Linked DNA regions of Homo sapiens: regions 1, 3, 4, 5, 6 and 7 are each linked to region 2. The links are contacts of gene promoters, found by promoter capture Hi-C in blood cells and fetal thymus (Javierre and others, 2016). All regions are on one chromosome and are shown on one strand. Each heading gives the region's core, a stretch centred on a gene start or on the middle of the fragment in contact. The rest is flanking DNA. Distances are from core to core; before and after follow the strand shown.

Region 1 (3,718 bases), core at 526-3,025, 440 kb after region 2:
TAGGAGGTGAGATAGTGCAGGGCCTAGAAGTCAAACAGATTTCCGTCTGAATTTCGGCTCTACCATCTACTGGCTGGGTGGTCCTGAGCACTGCGTCTACCTCCGGTGTCTCCGTGTCTCCACTTGCCAACTGGGATGATAAACAGGCCCCAGGTTGTAGGGGAGTCAGAGGCTTATCCTGAGGTGATGCTTGAGGAGTGTGTTGGTTGGCACATGGTGGGTGTCAGGAATTGGCAGCAACAAGTGTTTGGGGAGTGAACAGGAGACTGGCATAGTCTGAGGACTAGACCAGGATCCCTCCTGTCTTCCTCCCCGAGGCTGCATCCTGACCCATAGTCCCTCCTTTCCAGGGTCCTCTCCAGCCAGAGCCCACCAGCCGGCCTTTCTCCAGCCTCCTGAAGAAGATGCCCCTCATTCCTTGAGAAGCGACCTCCCCACTTCGTCTGATTCAAAGGTAAATCCACCCCTCGGCTGCAGCCCCCAAGCCATGTCTCCCAGCGTGTAGTTCCCTCTCAAAAATGCAATTTCTCTACCCCTTGAGACCAGTTTAAGGGTGGAGAGGAGAAAGGAAATTGCCATCAAATTACCCCAAGCTTCTAAGACTGTAAGTAGAGGAGGTCAATAATAGCGGGGAGAGGGAGGGAGGGCACTTCAGTGAATATACTTCTTGTTTTTTAATTTGTTATTATTATTATTTTTGAGACAGAGTCTCGCTCTGCCACCCAGGCTGGAGTGCAGTGGCACGATCTCGGGTCACTGCAACCTCCGCTTCCCGGGTTCAAGTGATTCTCCTGCCTCAGCCTCCCAAGTAGCTGGGATTACAGGTGCATGTCACCATGCTCGGCTAATTTTTTGTATTTTTAGTAGAGACGGGGTCTCACCATGTTGGCCAGCTTGGTCTCGAACTCCTGACGTCAGGTGATCCACCTGCCTCCGCCTCCCAAAGTGCTTGGATTACAGGCATGAGCCACTGCACCCGGCCATTATTTTCTTTTATTATTTTATTTTATTTTCGACCTGTGGTCTCAGCTACTTGGGAGGCTGAGGCGGGAGGATGGCTTCAGCCCAGGAGGCAGAAGTTGCAGTGAGCTGTGATCCTACCACCACATTCCACCCTGGGTGACAGAGTGAGACCCTGTCTCCAAAAATGTATGACCATATTGGTACGAAGATAAATAAAATCCAAGCAGGATTAAAAATGAGGACATTTCTTTGACTCTAAAAGTCCATTTATTTTCTTCTGATTTTAAAATAAATTAAAATGTTCTGATGGCCCCTAAAAGTGTTGTGAGCCTAGACCCTTTGCATCCAGTGCCTGGGGGAGAAGCCAGCTTTGCATGAGTGTGGTTAATGAAGCTCTTCCATGTCCCAGGTGTGGTGTCACATGCCTGTAGTCCTGGCTATTTGGGAGGCTGAGGTGGGAGGATCGCTTGAGCCCAGGAGTTGGAGACCAGCCTAGGCAACACAGGGAGGCCCCATCTCTAAATTAATAAATAGATCAACCTTCCATGAAGGATAAACCCAACACTTTGGGAGGTTGGTATGGGAGGTTCACTTGAGCCCAGTACTTTGAGACCAACCTGGGCAACAGTGTGAGATCCTGTGTCTACAAAAAAGTTTTTTTTGTTTTTGTGTTTTTTTTGAGGAGTCTCGCTCCATTGCCCAGGCTGGAGTGCAGTGGCACGATCTTGGTCACTGTAACCTCTGCCTCCCAGGTTCAAGCTATTCTCCTGCCTCAGCCTCCTGAGTAGCTGGGATTACATGCACATGCCAGCATGTTTGGCTAATTTTTTTTTGTATTTTTAGTGGAGACAGGGTTTCGCCATGTTGGCCAGGCTGGTCTTGAACTCCTGGCCTCATGTGATCCGCCCACCTCAGCATCCCAAAGTGCTGGGATTACAGGCATGAGCCACCGTGCCTGGCCAAAAAGTTTTTTTGAGACAAAGTCTCCCTCTGTTGCCCAGGCTGTCTCGACTCACTGAAACCTCTGGTTCCCCAGTTTAAGCGATTCTCCTGCCTCAGCCTCCTGAGTATCCGGGATTATAGGTGTGTGCCACCACGCCTGGCTAATTTTTGTATTTTTAGTAGAGACACGGTTTCACCATATTGCCCAGGCTGGTCTTGAACTCCTGGCCTCAGAGGATCCGCCTGCCTTGGCCTCCCACATATGGTGAGATTACAAGCAGTGAATCACTGTGCCTGGCCTCGCCAAAAAAAAAAGTTTAAAAAATAAGCCAGGCGTGGTGGCACACACCTGTAGTCCCAGCTACTTGGGGGCGCTGAGATGAAAGGATCCCTTGAGCCTGGGAGGTTGAGGCTGCGGTGAGCTGACATCATGCCATTGCACTCCAGCCTTGGTGTCAAAGTGAGACCCTGTCTCAAAAAGAAATCAAAACTATGTGTGTGGCATGATACCAGTTTTGTTAAATAAATCCTAGTATATCTAATTGGCCGGAAATACACTAACTTTAATAGCAGTTAAATGGATAATGGGGTTATGGATACTAATTTTCAAAAACTGTTAAGAGCATATGTAACTTAAAAAAATTGAAATTTAGGCCGGGCGCGGTGGCTCGTGCCTGTAATCCCAGCACTTTGGGAGGCCAAGTCGGGCGGATCACGAGGTCAGGAGATGGAGACCATCCTGGCTAACACGGTGAGGCCTCATCTCTACTAAAAAAATTACAAAAAATTAGCCGGACAGGGTGGTGGGTGCCTGTAGTCCCAGCTGCTCGGGAGACTGAGGAAGGAGAATGGCGTGAACCTGGGAGGCGGAGCTTGCAGTGAGCCGAGATCACACCACTGCACTCCAGCCTGGGTGACAGTACGAGACTCTGTCTCAAAAAAAAAAAAAAAATTACGTACATGTGTTTTAAAGAGAGAAGTTATTAAAAACGGAAACAGAACTTCTTTTTATAGGCTTATATACACATGCAGTCTCTGGAATTCTGTTTAAAGCAAGCTTGTCTTACTTGCCCATGGTTGTGTGCAGCCCAGGATGGCTTTGAATGTGGCCCAACACAAATTTGTAAAGTTTCTTAAAACATTATGAGTTTTTTTTGCAATTTTTTTTTTAAAGCTCATCAGCTATCATTAGTATTAGTGTATTTTATGTGTGGCCCAAGACAATTCTTCTTCCAGTGTGGTCCAGGGAAGTCAAAAATTGGACACCCCTGGTTTGGTTATATGAACCTGTATCCTACTTCCCAGGAGTCTGGAACCCCAGTATCTATGCTGTGAATTAGACCAAGAGTGCTGAGCTCGGCCACTGACCAGCTGTGGGACCTCACTTCAGCTGTTTTATTTCCTCAGTGCTTACTTCTGTAAACTGAAATAAAGGAAACATCAACCATGTGCCAGGAATACTCACATCTTAGTCTTCAAAATTACTCTTCGGGGTACTATTGTTACCTTCATTTTTGCTGATGGAAAAAATTGAGGCTCAGAGAGGTTAAGTAACTCACCCAAGGTCACAGAGCAAGATACAGATGGAGCTGGGATTTGAGCTTGGGCCTATCCATGTCCTTTTTTTTTTTTTTTTTTTGAGACAGAGTCTCGCTCTGTCACCCAGGCTGGAGTGCAGTGGCGCGATCTCGGCTCACTGCAAGCTCCGCCTCCTGGGTTCACCCCATTCTCCTGCCTCAGCCTCCCGAGTAGCTGGGACTACAGGCGCCCGCCACCACGCCTGGATAATTTTTTTTTGTATTTTTTAGTAGAG
Region 2 (3,887 bases), core at 357-2,856:
GCTCCCCAGACCTCTCCCTCCTGACTCCCCATCTGGGTCCCGGGAGCATGAGAAATGGTCCTGCTCACTCTGTCCCTTCCTGGCCCCATCTAACCCTATCCAGCCTGGCCCTTCCTCTGCTGAGGTCTGTCTCATCCAGCAGGAGAGGGTGGGAGTTCTCTCCCATTTATCAGATGAAGAATGGGGAGACTGAGGTTGGAGTTAGGTAGAGGCTGGCTCCAGAGGCCCTAATGACACCTGGCCTGGGGCCCCCAGCTAAGCTTGCTGAGGGCAAAGGCCATCGAATGGCCTTGGCTGGTACTTCCAATATGAAGCCAGAATGGGCCCCATTCAGAGAACACAGCCTCCCAACCCATCCACAGATGAGGCCAAAACAGAGCCCAGCATGCTTTGTGACCTCAGGGAGAGCACTTTCCTTCTCTCTTTTTCTCTAAGGGAGAATGAGGAGAAGGTGCCCTGACTAGGGCCTCTGGTGTGAGATTCCACTCCTGGAACAGGACCTTTTTCCCAGGGGACCCTGCCCACCCATCCAGGGGCAGAATCTTCTAGGAAAGGAGACTCGAGTGTAAGCTCTAGAGGCAGAGTCTGAAACCCACATGGAGGCCTACCAAATACAACCCTCACAGATCCACACACATCCCTGTAGCAGACATGCCACACCAAGCCCCCTCCACAGCCCTGAACTCAAACACCTGCCTCCCAGATCCAGTACGCCTTGTATCCACATCCCGTGACACCTGATCATACATGTACTCCCAGACATCAGCACACATGTCCACACCACACAGTGCCCCAGACAGCCCTGCACCCGAACACCTGCCTGTCCATCCAAACATCCCTCACCCAGCTCCCTCTTACACCCCAAAACACACATCCACCCGCACCCACACAAGATGACACCCAGACACACACACACACACCCTCATATACCAGACGTACCCTACACCCTCCAGCTCCTCTACCCCATCCCCTGGAAGCTCCTGTATTCCAAACCAAACCCCAAGTCCTTACACACCTAACTCCAAACATCCTCAGTACACAATTGTACACCCCCTCCTAACTCTGACTTAAGACCCTGAGAGCCAAATACCAGCACACAAAACACGTGGACACCCCTCTGGAACAAAAAACACACAGATTCCCAGATCCTCCACCCATGTCTGACCCACACGCCTGTCCTAAGACAGTACACTCCGCAAGCCCCCCCACCCCATGGATACCTCCAAATGCCCACGCCCTTCCAGTCAGGCCCAGCTGAAGGCGCTCACACAGGCCCCCTTCTCTATTACCCACTCAGTGTCCCATAGGCCCGCCTGGCACCTGCTGGGCCTGGGACAGAGGTGGAGAAAGGCCCAGCCCTGCCCCTCAGGGTCCAGCCCGCCCGGGAGAGTGCCCAGTGGCCACTCCTTGGGAAAGGATACCCAGAGGCTAGGGGCTCCCACCGCCCCCACGCAGCGCCCAGGGGTGCAGGGATGGGGGGCCCGGCTGTACCTGCGGCTGCCCCGCCGCGGGGCTGGCTGGGAGGCCCGCGGTGGTTGGCGCCGAGCTGTGGCCGCGGTCCTCACCGCTGCGTGCCTGGGCCACCCGCCCGCGCTCTTGCTGGAGCTGGGGCTCGGCTCGGCTCGGCGGCTCTCTCCGCCCGCCTGCGGCTCTGATGTCAGTGGAGGTGGAGCCTGCGGCGGAGGGACCCGGGATTGGGAGGCGAGGCACCGCTCCAAGGCTGGGGAAGGGGCACGGGTGGAGGCCATCTCCCTGCTTCTGGTCAGAGATCTCCTGCTGGACGCTTCCCGCCCTTGGTCTTAAGCGGGGTCCATTTCACAGAGGGGACAACTGAGGCCCGGAGAGATGATTTTCAAATCAGCGGGTGGTCGGAAGCAAAGCAGGATTCGAACCCCGTCTGTCTGAAGCTAGAGGCCGGCCAAACTCACCCTGTGGCCTGGTGGATTTTCTTTCAGACCAGTTCTGCGACCTCCCTTAGGGCTCTGTCTCCCTTCTCCGTGCCCTGAAGGGAAACAGGCCCTGGAACTGCACGGGAGTCTGGTGGGGGATGGGGGAGTGAGGGAGTGGGGAAGGACCGGGCAAGACTAGGCAATGAAGAGAGTGGAGGTGGTCGCAGGGTGTGGGCCCCACTTGACAGGTGGGAAGACTGAGGCCCCGGTTCCTCTGCAAGATGGAGCTGAGGCTTCAGCCCCAGACACTTGCTCCTCAGAGCGGGTGGTGGTGCCTAGAGGTATTGGGGGCAGAGGGAATTGGGGAGGAGGAAGTTAAATCGGGATCCTGAAGGAAACAGGCCAAAAAGGACCGAGGTGTCACGTGACTGGCGGGGCTCCAGAGTTTGATGGCTGGGGTCCAGGTTAGGGGAGAGAGCCTGCAACTAGGACGGCAGGCAAGAGGCCAAAGGTCGGTTTGCTCAAGGCCTTCCTTGGGAAGAAATTTGGTGCCGAGTGGAAAGAGGGGGCGGGGGGAGCAACTCGCAGGAATTGGGGATGGGGCTGAACTGGGGGCAGCCGGAGGAGGCACGTTGCTTGGGACCCCACTCCACCTCCAAGGGCCTCCAAGTGCCACTCCCTACTCCTGAATTCTTGCATGTTCCAGCTGGTGATGGGGAGAGAACAGTGCTTATGCCCAGCTCATTTCCTTTTTCTCTTTCTTTCTTTCTTTTTTCTTTCTTTCTCTTCTTCTTTTTTTCTTTTTCTTTTTTTTTTAAGACAGGGTCTTGCTCTGTCACCCAGGCTGGAGTGCAATGGCATGATCACGGCCCACTGCAGCCTCAAACTCCTGGGCTCAAGTCATCTTCCTACCTCAGCCTCCCATGTAGATGGGACTACAGGTGCGTGCCACCACACCTGGCTTTTTTATTTTTTGTAGAGATGGGGATCTCACTATATTGCCCAGGCTGGTCTCAAACTCCTGGGCTCAAGCAATCCTCCCCAATCAGCTTCCCAAGGTTCTGGAATTACAGGCATGAGCCACTGCACCTGGCCAATTTATTATGCCCATCTTACAGATGAGAGAGGAAGATAGCTGAGGTTCCTGGAAAGGCTTTGGAGTCTAACTGATCCTGGTCATGCTTTACCTCTCCGAACCTCAGTTTCTTACTCGGGAACATGGGAATATTGAAGATTGACTCAGAGTTCTGAGAATTCTATGATATAATGATATGAAGTGCCTAGAACACTATTCAAAACATGAGAGCTAGACTCAGTGTAAACTGAGACTCAGAGAGAGGACTTGATTTGGCCAGGGATGAGGGGTTAAGGGATCCATCTTCCAAATCTCAGTATCTCAGACTCCTTAGTTCATGGAAAAATACATTTCCTGCTCAGGGCTGAGCCCCCACTCTCCCCTATACCCACCAAGCACACCCACTGAGCTAGGGGTTCTTTTACCACAAATTCCTGTTCATCTTGATGACAACACCCCCTGGGTGATAAGATGACCTCTGTCCTTTCGAGGACTTGTACAACTTCTTTTTTTTTTTTTTTTTTTTTTTTTTGAGACAGTCTCCCTCTGTTGCCCAGGCTGGAGTGCAATGGTGCCATCTCGCCTCACTGCAACCTCCGCCTCCTGGGTTCAAGCAATTCTCCTGCCTCAGCCTCCCAAGTATCTGGGACTACAGGCGTGAACCAACACGCCCAACTAATTTTTGTATTTTTAGTAGAGATGGGGGTTTCACCATGTTGGTCAGGCTGGTCTCGAACTCCTGACCTCAGGTGATCCACCTGCCTCAGCCTCCCAAAGTGCTGGAATTACAGGCATGAGCTACCGCGCCCAGCTGACTTGTACAGCTTCTATGGTGTGCTTTACATTTTTCCTGCTTTTGAGCATTTCTGAGAGGCCTCGTGTTTTCTTTTCTTTAACAAACACATTATCTTTACTTTCTTAGT
Region 3 (3,864 bases), core at 316-2,815, 380 kb before region 2:
GAGATCACGCCATTGCACTCCAGCCTGTGCGACAAGAGCGAAACTCTGTCTCAAAAAGATTTTATAAGAAAGCAGAGCTTTTCCTTGAAGCTCTTTTGAAGTGGTAGCTTAATTAGTATTTTGTTGAAAATACTTTAAAGATGCCTAGTGAAAAGCCTACTAAAGTGCTGTGAGATTGGGGTTTAGAACATTTTATTTTCAGGCTTTATGGCCTATTTTCCATTGTGTCAAGTGCAAAACTACCCTGGCCCAAAGGAAGGGCAGAGAACATAATTACATCTTAGGCCACATTTCATTCTTTGCAGCTTTGCTAATCCAGTTGCTCAAGTTCTTTACCTCAACCTGAAGGAATGAAGCATTATTACATTTTGTGAATGGTGTTCAGCCTATAAGACGAAGTCTCACAAGACCTATAGGAAAGTTTACCATCTGCCTTAAATATTAAAATATCCATCTGTTATTCACATTAATACACAGAATGAAAATAGAGGTCTAGGAATTATCAAAGGTACTGCAAAAATACTGTATAGAACTTATTTGTAAATAGCACATACATTGATAGATGGGGTGTGGGACCAACAAACCAAATTAAAAGAAATTGTTTTTCTTTCAGTACACTAAGGTGTGTGTTTTCAAAACCAAACACAAACCTGTCAAGAGTATTTGTTGGCTAGTTTCTTAAAAGGCCAAGAGAAAAAAAATGATATATCTTTGGAAAACTTTTAATTTGGGAGTTATGTGAGTTGTTACTTTCTCCTGGATCACGATTCACATTTAATTGCTTTTCCAGTTGCAACAAGTCCTTCTTGAGAGTTTTGTGGAAAATGGTGCTTCCCTGGAACAAAGAGTAGTTGAGGTTTTTTTGTGGAACTCATCATAGTATTGTTTATTTTGGAGCCTCTGGCTGCAATCAGTATAGATTTTCAGTATCCTATTAGTATTATAATAGTACTCCTCTTAATACTTTCTGATGTCTCCATTGAGAATAAAAGGACACAATACTTTTGAAAGAAGAGTTCACATTAGCAGCACAGCCAGCAATCCTCATCTGGTTTCTCTGATCTCCTACCCCACACTTCATAATGAATGGGAAATAAGATGTTTATGAAGGTTTTATATCCTAGACTGGCCTTTTTACCACTATCAGAATTCACAGCTGCTTTGTTTATGGGCCGAACACAAAACTTTTCACCTGATGGGAGAAACCATTTAAACCTCAAATTAAGCAACCCACAGAACCAGGAAGTTCAAGGACCATGTCTGTTTTCACCACGATGTCTTTCCCCACCCCCCCACCCCCCACTCCACCCCCCACTAAGGGCAGGGTATTGTATCTGCCAGACTGGGTATTTGTTGAACAAGCGAGTATTTTCGCCTATTAGCTTAGTTTTTAAGGAAATCATTTTTTACTTGATTCATCATAGCTTTAATTCTATTACATACTACAATAAAAATTTGACAAGACTGATACAAATATGTAGTGGGCAATAGTTTGCCGTCTTCTTCCCTAGTATGGTGTTTTTCAATCTGGTGACTAGAATAGGCAGTGGGCTATAAGCAGGATTCATAAGGCCTGGAGCTGAGTTATATGTGACACTGCCACCTATTCATTGTGTGACCTTGGTTTTAACCTTCAAAGTGGGTCTCCTGGACTAAAAGAATGTGAAAAGATGGGGAAATAAATCTGTAATCTGAACATGGAATGACTTAGTTACAGACCAGACATATTGTTACTGGGAATGAAAAAGTCAATATATTTGAGGGGAAAAAAATGTAAATAAATATTGAGAAAGATTTTACAAATCTAATTAGGGGAAGATAGTTATCTCCCAATACTAGAGGGTACCAGAGTGCTTTTAAGGGGAACATTTGGTTACCCTTATTTCTTTAAAAAATGGCAGTTTAGGAAATTCTGCCCTAACTGTAGTCCCAATGTCAGATAGGACTCAGGTCTCCACTGCAAGGACCAAAATGTTAAGTTGAAGACTGAAAATGGGAAAATTTGGAAATGTCTTTGGAACCTCAAGTACATAAAAGCCTGTAAGTGCTTCATACTCATTAACAACATAGGCATAGAAAAAAGATATCCTTATTCTCAAGCATAGCCTTTTCTAATAAGTTCATGTTAGATGTCATGAAGTTTAGTGAGGAGTGAAAATCTATGAGGAAAAACATGAACCATTCTACTCTGGCAAAAGTTCAGGACAAACACCATAGGCCTGTATACCAAATTTTAAACCATGTTGAATAATGTGAAAAAAAGCATCACATTGCTTATGAAAGGCTTTCCTGTCGCCCCTTAATACTTCTGTCTCAGGCTAACATGTTTGTTAATGAGTTACAGTGGTGAAGTTAAGGAAATCTGCTTCCTGTCCTAGCATGCCCATTATCCCAGCCATACAGATTTAATACCAGGAGTCACTTTAACTCCATGAAGTCATTCAACAGGTACTTGAGTATTTACTATGTGCGTTTGTGCTAGAGTAGCCATTTCTTAAACTTTGTGGCCTCAGAGAATCCCTTCACATTCTTAAAGATTGAGGGCCCCAAATCACTTTACTAGTATCTTACCATATTAGAAAGTAAAATATTTAAATATTATAGCAACAAATGCATATTTTTAAAAAAATAGGTGCATTGTTTTACATTTTGGCAATTGTTTCCCTAAATGTCTGACTTAAATAGAAGACAACTGAATTGTTTCTTTTGCATTCAATTGGTTACAATGTTACTAGCAGTTTTCTATAATCTCACGTATTAGTCATTAGGAAAATATAGCTTCACTGAGTTATGTCAATCTCCCAAATGTTGGCCCATTTTACTGTATACTACCTAAAATATCATTGGCCGGGCACAGTGGCTTAAACCTGTAATCCTAGCACTTTGGGAGGCCAAGGTGGATCACCTGAGGTCAGGAGTTCAAGACCACCCTGGCCAACATGGTGAAACCCCATCTCTACTAAAAATACAAAAATTAGCCGGGTACAGTGGTACACACCTGTAGTCCCAGTTATGCAGGAGGCTGAGGCAGGAGAATTGCTTGAACCCAGGAGACAGAGGTTGCAGTCAGCCAGATGTCCCAAAAAAAAAAAAAAATTATTTTCAATATCACTATCTCATGAAGTATTGGGAAGCTGTCAAGTTCCTGATATTAGACACAAGTTTTCCCGAAATTCTGATTTTGACTCAACGTTTGGATTTTATCATTGAAAACAATTGCTGTCAGTTGTTAGGCTCCAAGGAAATAGCAGATAATTCAGCTTACATGAGTGCTTTTTCTTGAGACAACCATTTCAAAAAGTTATGTACTGTAGGGTTTAAGATTTAACAAAATGTCACTGCTTTCACAAGGACATTCTTGAGTGAAACTGGTTTTTTTCTTTTGTGGGGGTTCACACCACAAATGCATGGCAGTGAAAAATAACTTAGAGTTTGATGCCACTGCCACAGTTTGTGCCAAGGTGCCTGAAATTTTACTTTTACCTACTGTTGCCTTATCACCACTCTTATGTCAACATATAGTTTAGCATAAACCATGAGATTTTAAAAAGTTATTCTACACTTGCATTATTTCAGGACATGTGTTTGTTGCCAAGCTTTCACGTAAGAGTATCTTTAACTAGTTGGTGCTGATGCCTGGCAAATACAAGCCAAGTAACAAGTCCAGCCATGTTTATGCACGCATCCATTGATAACGTATTAGCACAGTCAGCCCTCCATATCCTCAGGTTCTGCATCTGCAGATTCAACCAAATGTGCTTGAAAATATTTGAGAATATTTAATACAATAGTACAAATATAAGTACACAATGTAACAACTATTTATATAGCATTCACATTGTATGAAGTATAAGAAATCTGGAA
Region 4 (4,096 bases), core at 533-3,032, 330 kb before region 2:
TAAAAAAAAATAGAAAACTTAGCCAGGCATTGTGGCGTGTGCCTGTATTCCCAGGTACTCAGGAGGCTGAGACAGGAGAATTGCTTGAACCCGGGAGGCAGAGGTTGCCGTGAGCCGAGATCACGCCACTCCACTCCAGCCTGAGCGACAGAGCAAGACTGTATCTCAAAAAAAAGATGTGAAAGTAGAGATTTTACCCTGATTTCTAACATCTCAAGGTTTCTCCACATATTTAAGAAAGTATTATAAATTTTCAAGCCAGTGCAGTATAATAGTTTCAGATGAAATGAAGGGGTTAAATAACAGATTACCATAACTCCTTAAATAAATAATAGATTACCATAACTCCAAATGGAGAGAAAGTATGGTTTTTTTCTCTCTTACGGAAAGTTCATGGTCTTTATGAAAAATCCAACCAGAAGCCTTTTCACACAGGTGCGACACATGATTGCAGATGGGATGATTCACCTGTGCATCTATGCTGTGTCTGCCATCACCAAGGATGCTGAGGTCACCATAGCATTTGATTATGAGTATAGTAACTGGTAAGACCTCAGAAACCTTTCCTAACAGGAATATCCATGTCTTACATATTAAGCTATTCACTCTATTTAAAGTCTGCTCTTGTTTCTTGCCTTTTCCTTTGTTTACTTAATCTTTTCATGACTAATGAATTTTCTGCCTAGAAATTGTAAAGGAAAAGACAGGCAAGATTTTTTTTAGAGATACGGATACCTTGTATGATACTGCTCACAAATTTCCTGACAGAAGTGTTTTCGCTTATGCCTTTTTAGCAAGAATAGCAAAATGGATATATATGTATGTATGAGACACTCCTGGAAATTACAATAGCATCCTGTTGTTATGCACAGAGTACTTATGTCAGGGACCATATAGAATGAGAATTTAGGCCAGGCGCAGTGGCTCACAGGCCTGTAATCTCAACACTTTGGAAGGCTGAGGCGGGCGGATCACGAGGTCAGGAGATCGAGACCATCCTGGCCAATGATGAAACCCTGTCTCTACTAAAAACACAAAAATTAGCTGGGCGTGGCGGCACACGCCTGTAGTCCCAGCCACTTGAGAGGCTGAGGCAGGAGAATCACTCGAACCTGAGAGGCTGAGGCTGCAGTAAGCCAAGATCACGCCACTGCACTCCAGCCTGGCAACAGAGGGAGACTCTGTCTTAAAAAAAAAGAGAGAGAATTTAATATGTTACCTCTACTTTTAATTTGTCAATTATACCCTTATAAAGCTAGGGGTGAGATTTAAAGATCCACCCTGTCCACAGAAACCATGTTATCTAGCTGTATATGACAGTGCAGAAAACCATAAAGGGCAATTCATAGATGAATATGTGGGATTTTTTAAAGTATATGCTTTTTGTTCTTTGGTCATTTGGGGCAAAATAGAGGTTATGTGGTAAAGTGATGTTTGGCCCAGGTATAAGGAAAAAAGATGTTCTGCTTAATTCATCAAGGAAAATAAAAAAGGTTTTAAGAAGGTTATAAAAGGTTTTAAGAAGTAGGGAATTAGTAGGTAAAAGTGAGGACATGGTAATCGTGGGCACAAGATGAGTATGGCCACATCAGACTTTATCATTGATAAACTGCCTGCTAAATAGCCAATAAACCACTGGGGGGATTGAATTTAGGGAGGGCTTTCTTTTTTTTTTCCCACTGACCATGGAGTAGAATTGGGGTTACACAAAGAAAGACAGAATATTGAAAGTGTTACGTCAGGCGCGGTGACTGACGCCTGTAATCCCAGCACTTTGGGAGGCTAAGGCTGGAGGATCACTTGAGCCCAGGAGTTCAAGACCAGCCTAGACAACATGGCAAAACCCCGTCTCTGCCGAAAATAAAAAAATTAGCTGGGCGTGTAGTCCCAGCTACTCAGGAGGCTGAGGTAGGAGGATCACTTGAGCCCAGGAAACAGAGATTACCGAGAGCTGTGATGCACCACTGCACTCCAGCCTAGATGACAGAGCGAGATTCCGTCTCCAATAAAAAGAAAAACAAAAGTATTTATAGGACTCTCTAATGTCTCTGTTTAACTTATTCAGAGACAATATCAGAGGAAGTTACTGTACTGATATTTTAAGAGGGTGAATGGATAATGTAACTGAATTTCAAGGGTACTGAGACAGGCATTTTGGTTGTTTCTTTGGAGCAGTAATTATAAAGTGGACTGTGCCTGTCACAAGGGAAACCGGAATTGTCCTATACAAAAAAGGAATCCTAATGCTACAGAACTGCCACTCCTACCACCTCCTCCAAGCCTACCCACCATTGGAGCAGAGACTAGACGTAGAAAAGCACGACGGAAAGAGCTAGAGATGGAGCAGCAGAATGAGGCTTCAGAGGAGAATAATGACCAGCAATCACAAGAAGTTCCAGAAAAAGTAACTGTATCCAGTGATCATGAGGTAATCGCCCCTGGTCAAATGATGATGCTATGGCATCAATCCTCCAAAGGAAGAGGAACCCGGGTTGCCGCATGGTTTAAGTAGGGGAGCTATAGTAACACTTAGTGCCCTTTATATCAATGTGGGTTTATTGTGTTCATACATTTCTTTCTGTTTTACAAAGTCAAAAACATCCTTTGCTGGTTTTGCACCAGAGAATAGGGGTTAGTTATCATCTGTGTTTACCATGTGGCCTCACATGAGTTAACAGTTTAAAGCACTAGAGATTGTTATAGAGAGTTTTAAGCTACCAGAATAAAACAGATTGATTTTTTCTCAGAGCTTGAGTACAGCTGAATATTGCCTCTATCTTAAAGGAAGTAGACAATCCAGAAGAAAAACCAGAAGAAGAGAAAGAAGAGGTTATAGATGACCAGGAGAACCTAGCTCATAGCAGGAGGGTGAGTACTGTCTGACATTACTTTGCTCCTTCTCATTCCTGCTACCTCCATCATGTGAACCTCTTCTGTTCTCTTGACTTTGTATCATCTCATTGATTTGACCTGAAGGTTATAATTTGGGCTTTTTCCGTAATAAAGATTTTATTATAATTTTTTTATTTATTTTTCTCTATACACACAGTAGTTTTGTAGTGATTATTATCTAGTGATGGTTTGAAGAGGTTGTTTTTTTTTTTTTTTTTTTTTTTACTAACAATCTGGTTTCCGCTGGGCGCGGTGGCTCACGCCTGTAATCCCAGCACTTTGGGAGGGCGAGGTGGGCGGATCACGAGGTCAGGAGATCGAGACCATCCTCGCTAACACGGTGAAACCTTGTCTCTACTAAAAATACAAAAAATTAGCCGGGCGCGGTGGCGGGTGCCTGTAGTCCCAGCTACTCGGGAGGCTAAGGCAGGAGAATGGCATGAACCTGGGAGGCAGAGCTTGCAGTGAGTGGAGATAGCGCCACTGCACTCCGGCCTGGGCAAAAGAGCGAGACTCCATCTCAAAAAAAAAAAAAAAAAAAAAATCTGGTTTCCGAAAAACTGGCTGGTCAGAATCAAAATGTATTATAGTTGGTTTGCTCTGAATTAGGAATTTTCTAGGTTTTTGTGAGTTCTGAAGTTTTTTTAAACCCTTTTAGTCATATGAACTAAAATTTTCTACTTTTATGCTGAAACCAATCCTGTGTGTTTATGACCCTGATTTGATGACTTTTTTTTTTTTCTTTTTGAGACCGACTCTTGCTCTGTCACCAGGCTGGAGTGCAGTGGCGCAATCTCAACTCACCACAATCTCTGCCTCCCGGGTTCAAGCAATTCCCCTTCCTTAGCCTCCCAAGTAGCTGGCATTACAAGCATGCGCCACCATGCCTGGGTAATTTTTTGTATTTTAGTAGAGACGGAGTTTCACCATGTTGGCCACGACGGTCTCAATCTCCCGACCTCATGATCTTCCCACCTCAGCCTCCCAAAGTACTGGGATTACAGGCGTGAGCCACTGCACCCATCCTGTTTTTCTTTCATATTAAAGTTTCAAAATAACTGACCCTTTTTGAAAAGTTTATGTTTGACCTTGCCTTTATTTACAACTATTCCCCACATTTAAAATGAAATATTTTATTTTTAATCTTCTGTTTTCCAAGTTATATGTGTCATCTTACTGGTAGTTAAATGAATTTCTGTAAATT
Region 5 (3,895 bases), core at 566-3,065, 490 kb after region 2:
TTTTTAGTAGATATGGGATTTCTCCATGTTGGCCAGGCTGGTCTCGAACTCCTGACCTCGTGATCCACCTGCCTTGGCCTCCCAAAGTGCCGGGATTACAGGCATGAGCCACTGTGCCAGGCCACATTCCTCCATCTTACTCGTCTCCACCCATCCTTTACTACTGCTCTGCAGGCAGCTTCTCTCATCTTTAGCTCTTTCTTCTAGTACTTACCCCATGTTTCTAAATAATCTTTACTGTTGATCAGTTTTTCAGTTTTAGATGTCTGAGGACTTCTTGCTTGGGCGATGAGAATTTAGTTCTCTATACCTCCTTCAGAAGCACCCACACCCAGGGACACATTAGCTTCCCCTTTCTGCAGCCTCCCTGTGTGGCTTGAATACCTTTTGGGTTAAGTCTGTGTAAGATTTGTTACTGCCATGTTCACAGCTGAGTCGCCTTGTATACTCTGATCACATTTTCTTTCTTGTAAAACTTCATTTTCCTTAAAGTTCATCATTACTTTGTTTTTCCTTTGGTTTTCCTGGTACCTTTCACTAATTAATCCCCAAACTGCGAGAGCTGTAAAATCCTTCTCAATACTGTCAAAATAAGGAATCTGTTTCTTTTTTTTCTCTCTTGGAGGTATACGTCCTCAGCCCTCTGTTGTCCTGCTCTGGTCTGGACTGCCTGCCGTCAGGCCAGCTGGCAGCTGTCTCTCTGGAGCCTCCTTCACATTTCTCCCGGATTGAGTCTTCTGCTACCTATACTCTGTGTCTTCTCATGTTCTTCTTCCTTGGTTTACTCTCACATTTTGGTGGAATACTTTTTCTAGTAGCTTCTTGAGAAAGGGTACATGGAGAAACTTTTTTTGGTAAACATGTGTCTGAGATTGCCTTTATTTTACCTTTAACCTTGATTACAAGCTTGGTTGGTTTTGGAATTCCAGGTTGGAAATTGTTTTGTTTGGGATTTTGAAGGCATTGCTCCTTTTCTTCTGGGCTTTTTTTTTTTTTTTTTTTTTTTTGAGGTGGAGTCTCGTTCTGTCTTGCCCAGGCTGGAGTGCACTGGTGTGATCTTGGCTCACTGCAGCCTCCACTTCCTGGGTTCAAGTGATTCTCCTGTCTCAGCCTCCCGAGTAGCTGGGATTACAGGCACACGCCACCACACCTGGCTAATTTTGTATTTTTGGTAGAGACAGAGTTTCATCATGTTGGCCAGGCTGGTCTCAAACTTCTGACCTGAGGTGATCCACCTGCCTAGGCTTCCCAAAGTACTGAGATTACAGGTGTAAGCCACTTCGCCTGGCCTCTTCTGGTTTTCTTGATGTCTGAAGCTATGCTGGTTCCTGAACCTTGGTATATGATTTTTTATTTTTTATTTTCTTTTGCTTTGAGACAGAGTTTTGCTCTGTCACCCAGGTTGGAGTCCAGTGGCGTGATCTCAGCTCACTGCAATCTTCACCTCCCAGGTTCAAGCGATTCTCCTGCCTCAGCCTTGTGAGTAGCTGGGATTACAGGCATGTGCCACCACACCCGGCTAATTTTTGTATTTTTAGTAGAGATGGGGTTTCACCATTTTGGTGAGGCTGGTGTCGAACTCCTGACCTCATGATCCGCCCGGCTCAGCCTCCCAAAGTGCTGGGATTACAGGTGTGAGCCACCGTGCCCAACCTGTATTTTTTTTTTTTTTCCCTCTGTGGAATCTTGTAGAATATATTTTGATCTCAGGGCTCTGAAATTTCATGGTGGTGGTGTCTACTTTGCTTAGCATGGGACATTCCCTTTCAATCTAGAAACCCTTGTACTTTAGCTGTGGGAAAAGTTCGTGAATTACTGTACTTCGCTGATGTTTTCTTTCCGTATTTTTCTTCTCTCTTTCTCTCTCTAGCTTCTCTACCTTCTTTCTCTTATTTGGATGTTGGATTTTTCAGGACTGGTCCTGTAATTTTATTGCCTTTCTCCCTTGTTTCTAGCCAATTTCTTGCTTTACTTTGTAGGATATTTCCTTTTCTTTATCTTCCAACCCAGCTGTTTATTTAGTTTTACTTTTCTACTGTCATGCTTTTTATTATCCAAGAGCTCTTTTGTTTTTTAATAACATCTCTGTTCTTGTTTCATCTTCTGTTATCTCTTTTAGGGAGTTCATGGTAGTTTTTTGGCTTGGTTTTAGTTTTCTTTAAGTTGCTTCTTTCCGTTTCTTTTGATCTCTTCTGTGTTAGAGGCTGCCTTCACATGTCTGGTAATCTTTGGTTGTCTGTTTATGATCAAGAATGGGAGGATTAAAAAGCTGTTTGGAAGCTCTGAGCGTAAAGACTTTGAGCTTTGCTTTGGGATGATCGGGAGAATATAACCCTCTTCCCCTTGCCATGTCACTGCTTTTAGGAAAGCCTCGAGACTGGTCACCTTGCCCAGAGGAGTGTTTTTCAGCCTGCTTAGGAGGAAAGGTGGCTGGGAGCTGGGTAGCGAAAGGGGCGGCTGCGGGGGCGGCGTCAGCATTCACTTAATCTTTGTCTTTTTGGTGCAGTACCAGTGCCCTCCACTGAGCTGACCAGGCCTTATTCTAGAGATCCTCTTGTTTTACTGTCTTCAAACAACTCACCTTCTCTGAGTATGAGGAGGGAATCTGGGATCTAACTCATTGGAAACCAGATTTCACCCTGTCCTCCTCCTTTTAATGTTCTTCTGTAACTCCAGTTCCTCCAGTTCCCAAGGTGCCCAGTACCGCGAGTGCCTGCTCTGTTCTAAGCTTTCCTGGTGCCTAGCTTAGGTCTCAGCCTTCTCTTGGTCTGCCAGTGAGGTGTTATTTGGCCATCTGCTTTCTAGCCTCCAGTGCGTGATCACTGTAGTCTCTTGTTCTTCCTGTTCTGGTGTTTTTGTTATTGTAGAGGGGTTTTATTTGTTTTTTGTTTGGTTTTTAGATTCTTTAGTTTTAGTGAGGTTTCAGGAAAGAGTAAAATAAGTCGAATTTGTTCAGTACATCCTTAGCCTAGAAAAGTTCTGGGAAAATTTCTTGATTATTTGATTTCTTGTCTGTTTCTTCTTTTTCTGGACCATCTATTTTATGCTTGGTCTTTCGGATGGAAATTCCAATTTTCTTTTCTTCCCAGTGAATCCTTTTTAAAAAATTTTTCTGGATGGTTTCTTCAACTTTATCTTCTTTTTTTTTTTTTGAGATAGAGTCTCACTCTGCCACCCAGGCTGGAGTGCAATGGCTTGGTCTTGGTTCACTGCAACCCCTGCCTCCCAGGTTCAAGCGATTCTCCCGCCTCAGACCCCTGAATTGCTGGGACTATAGGCGCATGCCACCATGCCTGTCTAATTTTTGTATTTTTAGAAGGGACGGGGTTTCATTTTGGCCAGGCTGGTCTCGAACTCCTGACCTCAGGTGATCTATCCGCCTCGGCCTCCCAAAGTGCTGGGATTACAGGCGTGAGCCACCGCGCCTGGCTCAAGTTTATCTTCTAACGTTTATGTTGATTTTTTTTTTTTGGTCTTTTTTTTTTTTTTCCTGTGCGTGGTTTTTTTTTTTTTTTATTGCTGCCAATTTTTTTTTCTTTTTTGTCTTTTTGAGACAGAGTCTCACTCTGTGGCCCAGGCTGAAATACAGTGGTGTGATCTCAGCTCACTGCCACCTCTGCCTCCTGGGTTCAAGCAATTCTCCTGTTTCAGCCTCCTGAGCAGCTGGGATTACAGGCATGGACCACCATGCCTGGCTAATTTTTGTATGTTTAGCAGAGACAGGATTTCACCATGCTGGTCAGGCTGGTCTTGAACTCCTGACCTCAGGTGATCCACCTGCCTCGGCCTCCCAAAGTGCTAGGATTACAGGCATGAGCTACCACGCCCGGCCAGAACTTTAAAAATTAAAAATTTTAGCTGGGCGTGGGGCTCATGCCTGTAATCCCAGCACTTT
Region 6 (4,165 bases), core at 520-3,019, 390 kb after region 2:
AAAGAAAATATGTTTAAAAAATTGGCCAGTCACGGTGGTTCACGCCTGTAATCTCAGCACTTCGGAAGTCCGAGGTGGGCAGATCACGAGGTCAAGAGATCAAGACCATCCTGGCCAACGTGGTGAAACCCCGTCTCTACTAAAAATACAAAAAACTAGCCAGGTGTGGTGGCATGCGCCTGTAGTCCCAGCTACCTGGGAGGCTAAGGCAGGAGAATCACTTGAACCCGGTAGGCGGAGGTTGCAGTGAGCCGAGATTTCGCCACTGCACTCCAGCCTGGTGACAGAGTGAGACTCCTTCTCAAAAAAAAAAAAAAATCATTTTGTATAGGACTAAAAACATGTAAAAGGAGTATATACTCCAAACAATAATGGTGATTCCTCAGGGATGAGGTTATGGGAAGGTGTTTGTTTTCTCTTTCTTTCTGTCTTTGACAAATATCACATGCTATCAGAGAAACCAATAAAGATATTTTTGTTAAAAAAAAATATAGCCGGGCGCGGTGGCTCATGCCTGTAATCCCAGCACTTTGGGAGGCCGAGGTGGGTGGATCACCTGAGGTCAGGAGTTTGAGACCAGCCTGACCAACATGGAGAAACCTCGTATCTACTCAAAATACAAAATTAGCTGGGTGTGGTGGCACATGCCTGTAACCCCAGCTACTCAGGAGGCTGAGGCAGGAGAATTGCTTGAACCCAGGAGGCAGGGGTTGCGGTTAGCCAAGATCACACCAGTGCACTCCAGCCTGGGCAACAAGAGCAAAACTCCGTCTCAAAAAGAGAGAAAAAAAAAGAAAAATATATGCAAAGTGCATAGAGAAGCTTTATTATTCTCCTTTCATCAGTCTTCCCTCCTGCTCCAGCTTTTTTTTTTTTTTTTTTTTTTTTTTTGATATGGAGTCTCACTGTGTCCCCCAGTCTGGAGTGCAGTGGTATGATCTTGGCTCAGTGCAGTCTCCACCTCCCGGGTTCAAATGATTCTCCTGCCTCAGCCTCCCAAGTAGCTGGGATTACAGGTGCGTGCCATCACGCCCAGCGAATTTTTTTGTATTTTTAGTAGAAACGGGGTTCCGCCGTGTTGGTTGGGCTGGTCTCGAACTCCTGACCTCAAGTGATCCACCCACCTCGGTCTCCCAAAGTGCTGGGATTGCAGGCATGAGCCACCATGCTTGGCCTCTGCCCCAGCTTTCTGATATGACTGGTTCTCAACTGTGCCAGCACATATTAGAATTATCTGGGAAGCTTTAAAAAACAGTAGTGCCTGAGCCCCACTCCAGAATAATTGAATCTGTCTCCCTGGAGGTAGGGCTAGGCATTTATACTTTTTAAAAGCACCCCAGATGTTTCTACTGTGCAGCCAGGGTTGCAAACCACTGACTATAATTTCAAGGGAATTAAACTTGAACAGCTCAAAATGACGTAAGTGTGTAATTAATTACATTCAGCCTCAATAACTGTTTCTAACTGATCCTGGTGGGTGTTGGTCATGGAAAATAGCCAGAGGAAGAAATTAACTGCAAGATCAGAGGAAATTTCTTGTGGTGAGGCAGTATAACACAGCAGAAAGAGCATTTGCTTTGGGTCAGACTTGAGTTGCATCCTGTTGATGCGGGACAGGCAAGCCCCCAAATTGGGGTTTAGCCTGGGAGGGTTCTTAGCTTCACCCAGAAAGGAATTCCAGGGCCAGCCAGTGGTGTTAAATAGCACCTTTTATTGAAATAGCAGTGTGCAGCCGCAGCAGAGGTACTGCTCCTTGCAGGGTAGGGCTACTCCATAGGCAGTGTGCCCAGAGTAGTGGCTCAGAGGCAGTTCTACAGTCACATTTATACACACTTTTAATTATATGCAAATTAAGGGGCAGTTTATGCAGAACATTCTAGAAAGGGGCGGTGACTTCTTGGAGTCGCCATGGCAATGGTAAACTGACAAGGTACACTGGTGGCAGTGTCTTATGCGAGGTACTTCCCACCACACCTGTTTTAGCTAGTCCTCAATTTGGTCCGATGTCCCAGCCATTCCTTTCGAGTCGAGTGCTGCCCCCTACCTCACTGTCACTTGGCCAACTTGGCCCAGTTACAATTGACTTCAGCCTCAGTTTCTTCATCTGTAAAACAGAAACAATAAACCTTTGCAGGGTTGTATGGATTACAGATAATGTATGCTAAATGCCTGCTAGGTGAGTTGGTAGGTGAAGGGCAACCATTAGTAATAGCAAAGACCTTACTTTGAAGAACTTATTCTAAAGAGTGGTAACTGAGATGTGTCCCTGTGATGACCTGCTCAGGCCCAAAATGACTCAAGCTTCTCTGGAAGACAGAATCCTAGGACACAGATCCCAAGCCCTGAGGCTGGGGTGAGAAGGAATTGCGGGAAGGGCCTGAGGATGCAGCAGAGAGAGCAGTGGGGGCTCCTCTGCCTTCCAGGATTGACCAAGGCTGAATGTGAAACTTCCGTGGTCTTAAAGCCTCACCCCAGGGAAGAGGCCCTGTGGCACTGAGGGAGGAGCTCTACACACACGCTGCTTGCGGAAGAGAAGGAGAAGCAGGTAGGGGACTCTGCAAAAAGAGAAAAGGAGAAAAAGAAGAGGATCTTTATTCTCTTTTACCCCCGTGTGCCTGGGATGGAGATGCTTCTCCACCCAGCCTATGGCAAACAATCATTACAGTTCCCAAGTCCACCTTCAGCCACTGCTGAAAACACAGGACTTCACTTGAAAAGTAGTCTCAGAACACTGAAATATGTCCCACTTTCAACATCAAGGAGGACATAATAGTAATCCTTTACTGGGCTCAGCACTTCACAGTTGATCTTGAGCGTTTTGGAGTCCATTTAGGCTTCATAACAATCCTTCCAAGTGGCTGCAGCAGGAGATCCAGTTTCCAAAAGGGAAAACAGAACTGGCTCAAAGGACTAAGAGCCGGAGAGTGGCTGAACCAGGTCTCCAAACTTGATAGGACTCCAAGGCCAGTGGGTGCCTTTTCAAGACCACTAATGACAGCTACCATTTTTTGGGCACATTCTCTGTGCGAGGAAAGCCCTGTAGTAGGTGTTCTATATAGGCTACATAATTTGATTTATTCCACTCCCCTCACAACTCTAAGCAGTAGGAAGGAGCAGGCCCACTTTACAGATGCTGGAAACAAGGCTTGACGAATGAAATGAGTTGTCCAGAGTCACAAAGCCTGTTGGTGGCAGAACTGCAACTTGGCCCTAGGACTTCTCACTTTGATTTCAGCTTCCTCCTTTTGCAGCGCTACTCCATAGCTGACGGCCACAGCTATACAGTGGTACCTACTCTAGTTACTTATCTGCCCTTCGTGACCTCGCCTAACCTCTTGGAATCTATTTACTTCTGTGTAAAATGGGGATAATAATATCTATAGTATAGGCTTGTAAGAATGACATAAGATCATTTTTGCAAAGTACATTGTAGATACAGATAAATGTATCTGTATCTACAATATACTTTAGCCAGTGGTGATGGAGAGCCTGGGGTCAGAATACTTAGGTTCAAATGATTTTAGCCATATTATTTAACCTCTCTGTGCCTTAGTTTCCTTATTTGTAGAATGGGGCTATAACCATACCTACCTCAGAGGGTCATTGTAAGGAGTAAGTAAAGTAACCCAGGTGAAGGCTACACATAGTAAGTGCTCAATAAATACTAGCTATTTTATATATGTGTGTGTGTATTTTATATATATATATATATATATATATATATATATATATGTATACACACACTATAAATTCTGTTCCTTGTACCCTCTTTGTTTATTTAGAGACAGGGTCTCACTCTCACCCAGGCTGGAGTGCAGTGGTGCAATCTTGGCTCACTGCAATCTCCACCTCCTGGGCTCAAGTGATCCCCCTACCTTAGCCTCCCAAGTACCTGGGACTACAGGCACATGCCACCATGCCTGGCTAATTTTTGTAGAGACAGGGTCTTGCTCTGTTTCCCAGGCTGGTCTCGAATTCCTGGGCTCAAGCGATCTGCCTGCCTCTGCCTCCCAAAGTGCTGGGGTTATAGGTGGGAGCCGCCGCACCCAGCCCCTTATACCCTATTTAATAATCCAGTTTGTCCTGCAGTCCCCTGCACCATACTCTGCTTTTTTCCCAGTAATAGTATCATCTAAGATAATGCAATTGGCCACTTGCACTCCCT
Region 7 (3,725 bases), core at 297-2,796, 420 kb after region 2:
TGCTCATTAGGAAGAGCACAGGCATTCCGAAAACAAATCAGAGAGAAAAAGAAATCATGCCTGGCAACCAGCTCTGGTGAACCATGACAGGGGCACAGAGAAGCGCTTCTGCCCCTCCCCCATTTCCTCCTTGTATCTGGGACTCAGCCCTCATCACTGTGGGTTCTCAGCCTCAGCAAGGCAGCTTTCACGGATATCCAGATTCCAGGCTGGGTGCAGTGGCTCACACCTGTAATCCCAGAACTTTGGGAGGCCAAGGCAGGTAGATTGCTTGAGCCCAGGAGTTTGAGATCAGCTTGCGCAATATGGCAAAACCCTGTCTCTACCAAAAAAAAACAAAAACAAAAACAAAAACAAAATTAGCCTGGCGTGGTGGCGTGCTCCTGTGGTCTCAGCTACTTGGGAGGCTGAGGTGGGAGGATTGCTTGAACTTGGGAGGTAGAGGCTGCAGTGAGCTATGGTTGCACCAGTGCACTCTAGCCTGGGTCACAGAGCAAGACTCTGCCTCAAAAACAAAAACAAAAAATCCAGACTCTGTCTGAGAACTGCCGTGTCAACCTTCTGGTGCCTGTGGCCACCTAAGCTATAGATTAGCTGTTCCTTCCGTCACCTGCGTCCCCTTCCTATCCCTGGGGGTCCCAGCAGGGAGAACCCTGGGCTGCCCACCTCCAGTGTGTGACTGAGGCTGGCTGCCAATGGCGTGGGCACAGGCCCCCACCTCCCCTGCTGCTGGGCTCCTATGTTACTTTGCTCTCATGGCCACTGTACCTCTCGGGACTGTGCACCAAGTTGCTGCCCACCTAGAATCGGTTTCCATTAGAGTGTTTAAAATGTTAAAAATAGCCTTCCACCCTAAATGCTTCCTTCGGAGGCCCGAGTTGGGAATCAGAGGTTCTTTTCTATCTGCACCTTTCTGGCAGAACTGAAGGAGGGTGGCTGTTTGCACAGTGTTGTGGGCCCCTGCCCTGGGCCAGCCACTTCACATTTGTCATCATGGAGCCCTGGGACGGCCCTGGGAGGTGTGGGGTTATTATTCTGATTCCACAGGAGAGGCGCATGAAGCTCAGAGGGTTAGGAGGTCTGTGCCTGGGCGTGAAGCTGGAATCGCAGAGCTTGGGTCTGGCTCAAGCCAGAGCCGACGCTTCCCCACGCTTACTCTTGTGATCCTAGTTCTACTCTTTGATCACAGTCTGTGTTTTTGGATCTCATGATCCTGCAGAATCAACTTTATGTGTGGAATTCTCTTGAGAATTTAATCCTGGGAGGAAAGAGTGCTGTCTTGGAAGCCTGAGGCTGCCCCTGTCTATCTGTGATAAGAAGTCCGTGAGCAGCTCACTCCTGAGCCTTGGCCTTGGCAGATAGGAAGCTCAGTGCGAGAGTTAAAGCTTGTCACAGCCCTTTCTTGTAGGCATTTGGCCTCCTTTGCCTCATCCTGCCTTTGGTGTTCTATTTTTATTTCACTAGCTCTCTGGTGTGCCAGCCTGAATGAGTGGGCGTTGCGTCTTTCTAGCTAGCAGGGAGCAGGTTTGGAGGGATGAGGACAGAGGCCATTTTCTCCATCTTCATGTTTGGACAGTGGGACAGGCATGCATGGGCCTGCCTGTCCACCCAGCTCAGACCATGCCGGCAGCTCCAGGGTGGAGATGAGGGCGGTTCATGTTTATACGCACCATTTATTGCTTGCATTTTAAAGACATCTAAAAACTCAAAGCTTGAGAAGATGGGGGTTTCACAGGAAACCAGAACTTCTTGTTGGGGCTGACATGGGGCTCTGTTGGCTTACATCCGTGGCTGGTGTGACCTGGTGCCTCTTGTGTGGGAGGGTGGATGTTAGCCCCAAGTGTGCTGACAGGTCTGGTCACAGGTAGCCCTGCCGACACCGCCCCTCCCCATCTGTTCCTCACTCCTGCTCACTTCCAAATGCCCTGTGGTGCCAGGTGGGGCCACCGCATGTCACTGCAGAAGGAACAAGAAAAAGAAAGAGAAAAGCTGGACTCTCTTTAGGATGAAAACATAATGACATTTTTTATCTTCCCCACGGGTGGAGCCCACAGAGGTCGGCCACAAATGGGTTGGTGGCCTTGATGTTCCTGCCAAATGTGTTTTGACAGAGAGGCAAAGATTTGTGCTGAACAAAACATTACCCTGAATAGGACACTGGACTGGGAGCAGTGGCTCAGGCCTGTAATCCCAGCACTTTGGGAGGACAAGGTGGGAGGATCACTGGGGCCTAGGAGTTTGAGCCCAGGCTGGGCAACATAGTGAGATGCTGTCTCTACACAAAATTAAAAATTAGCTGGGCGTGGTGTTGCCTGTAATCCCAGCGGCATGGGAGGCTAAGAGAGGAGGATAGCTTGAGCTCAGGAGTTTGAGGCTGCAGTGAGCTGTGATCACACCACTGCATAGCCTGGGTGACAGAGCAACACCCTGTCTCAAAAAAAAAAAAAAGGAACAGGACACTGAAGTTAAGTAAGGCTGTAAGTATCACCCTCATCCCCGTTTTACTGTGATGAGAACAATGAGGCTCAGCCAGGCAGGCCTCCGACAAGGAGAAGGTGCCTCATTTGCTGGGATCATGGGCGGTTCTGGGTGTAGGTGAGACCTTTAGGGAGCATTTTATACTGTTGCGGGCCTGGCCTCTGCAGGAGGTCACTGTTGGGAAGTGACTTCAGCGAGCCCAGCCGGCCCTGAGCCAGGGGAGCCACTGCTGCCCTTTTGACACAGATGTCACAAGGATGACAAGCCTTTCCAGGAGCATAAGCCCCACTTGAGGCAGTTTGAGGAGGGAGGGTGGAGGGAGAGAGGCAGTCTCTCCCTGCCAGAGAGGGGAGGCTGGGAAAGATGAGGACTGGGAGTGGCGGGGGGTAGCCTTCCAAGGGAGCACAGGCAGAGCTTTCACTTCTGTGCACCCTGGGAGCGACAGCTCTGTTCCAGACCCGTGCTTGAATCAGCACTCACCCCGACATTGTTCATTGTCATTCTGTACAAGGGACTGGTTTTCTGTTGTTGTTGTTTTTTGAGACAGAGTCTTGCTCTATTGCCCAGGCTGGAGTGCAGTGGCACAATCTTAGCACACTGCAGCCTCCGCCTCCCAGGTTCAAGCGATTCTCCTGCTTCAGCCTCCTGAGTAGCTGGGACTACAGGTGTGCACCACCACGCCTGGCTAATTTTTGTATTTTTAGTAGAGACGGGGTTTCGCCATGTTGGCCAGGCTGGTCCAGAACTCCTGACCACAGGTGATCTGCCCTCCTTGGCCTCCCAAAGTGCTGGGATTATAGGTGTGAACCACTGTGCCCGGCCTAGGGACTGTTTATTCTCCTCCTGGGCCTGTGGAAGGCAGTGGGATGCCATGAGGCAGACAGTGATCCTGTGATTCCTGCAGGCAAGGCCCTTGTTGGAGAGAAACTGGCTTCTAGACTCCGAGTTTCAGCCACAAAGGCCTTGGCCTGATGGCAATCAGGATGGGGGGGTGTGGCCTATAGAACCACTGAAGTGCCCGTGGAGCCCAGGTTGGGAGAGAAGTGCATGTTCTCTGGGTGCCCTTACGTCAGTGGTTCTGGGAGGAGACCCCGCCTTCCTGCCTCAGTGCTGCCTGCCTCCCTGTTTCCCTTGGGCAGGTCTTGTTCCCCGCTGAGCCTCAGCTTCCTGACTTGAGATCTCCAGGGTTGTGGGGAGGGTGCTTGAATTGAACGTATCAATACACAACGTGGACATTCGTTGGTGAA

What was found. The method cuts DNA at HindIII sites, captures the fragments that hold promoters and counts their contacts. A CHiCAGO score of 5 or more calls a contact.
Region 1: a contact is called between a fragment that was not itself captured here and the fragment with the promoter of CAMK1 in region 2, in 2 of 17 cell types (monocytes and activated CD4 T cells). The highest score is 5.5, in monocytes.
Region 3: a fragment that was not itself captured here is called in contact with the fragment with the promoter of CAMK1 in region 2 in 1 of 17 cell types (neutrophils); the score reaches 6.8 in neutrophils.
Region 4: a fragment that was not itself captured here is called in contact with the fragment with the promoter of CAMK1 in region 2 in 1 of 17 cell types (neutrophils); the score reaches 5.2 in neutrophils.
Region 5: a contact is called between a fragment that was not itself captured here and the fragment with the promoter of CAMK1 in region 2, in 6 of 17 cell types (naive CD8 T cells, activated CD4 T cells, erythroblasts and 3 more). The highest score is 8.2, in naive CD8 T cells.
Region 6: a fragment that was not itself captured here is called in contact with the fragment with the promoter of CAMK1 in region 2 in 3 of 17 cell types (monocytes, naive B cells and activated CD4 T cells); the score reaches 7.5 in monocytes.
Region 7: a fragment that was not itself captured here is called in contact with the fragment with the promoter of CAMK1 in region 2 in 3 of 17 cell types (monocytes, erythroblasts and total CD8 T cells); the score reaches 7.0 in monocytes.

The regions. Positions count from the first base shown.
Region 1 is chr3:10,209,239-10,212,956 of GRCh38, forward strand. It overlaps IRAK2 (interleukin 1 receptor associated kinase 2), which reads left to right. Exons shown (of 13, transcript NM_001570.4): 4 at 351-454. Among named protein-coding and RNA genes, the nearest start is that of TATDN2, 37 kb to the right of the region's middle. The HindIII fragment of the contact is 2,369 bases long and covers 592-2,960 here.
Region 2 is chr3:9,768,341-9,772,227 of GRCh38, forward strand. It overlaps CAMK1 (calcium/calmodulin dependent protein kinase I), which reads right to left and starts at 1,607. Exons shown (of 12, transcript NM_003656.5): 1 at 1,492-1,607. It also overlaps a transcript of OGG1 not described here. RefSeq lists a silencer at 1,378-1,557. The HindIII fragment of the contact is 10,493 bases long and covers 259-3,887 here.
Region 3 is chr3:9,385,089-9,388,952 of GRCh38, forward strand. THUMPD3 (THUMP domain 3 tRNA guanosine methyltransferase) reads left to right here. Exons shown (of 10, transcript NM_001114092.2): 10 at 1-1,703. It overlaps THUMPD3-AS1 (THUMPD3 antisense RNA 1), which reads right to left. Exons shown (of 4, transcript NR_132781.1): 3 at 2,999-3,039; 4 at 176-835. Among named protein-coding and RNA genes, the nearest start is that of THUMPD3-AS1, 9.6 kb to the right of the region's middle. The HindIII fragment of the contact is 4,058 bases long and covers 1-3,594 here.
Region 4 is chr3:9,442,873-9,446,968 of GRCh38, forward strand. SETD5 (SET domain containing 5) reads left to right here. Exons shown (of 23, transcript NM_001080517.3): 11 at 436-545; 12 at 2,176-2,428; 13 at 2,785-2,868. Among named protein-coding and RNA genes, the nearest start is that of SETD5, 47 kb to the left of the region's middle. The HindIII fragment of the contact is 4,722 bases long and covers 1-4,096 here.
Region 5 is chr3:10,261,545-10,265,439 of GRCh38, forward strand. The region is part of intron 3 of TATDN2 (TatD DNase domain containing 2); the gene reads left to right. Among named protein-coding and RNA genes, the nearest start is that of TATDN2, 15 kb to the left of the region's middle. RefSeq lists a silencer at 2,391-2,580. The HindIII fragment of the contact is 1,822 bases long and covers 905-2,726 here.
Region 6 is chr3:10,159,178-10,163,342 of GRCh38, forward strand. No RefSeq gene overlaps it. Among named protein-coding and RNA genes, the nearest start is that of IRAK2, 3.7 kb to the right of the region's middle. The HindIII fragment of the contact is 1,059 bases long and covers 1,241-2,299 here.
Region 7 is chr3:10,193,115-10,196,839 of GRCh38, forward strand. All of the region lies in intron 2 of IRAK2 (interleukin 1 receptor associated kinase 2), which reads left to right. Among named protein-coding and RNA genes, the nearest start is that of IRAK2, 30 kb to the left of the region's middle. RefSeq lists an enhancer at 3,611-3,725. The HindIII fragment of the contact is 326 bases long and covers 1,384-1,709 here.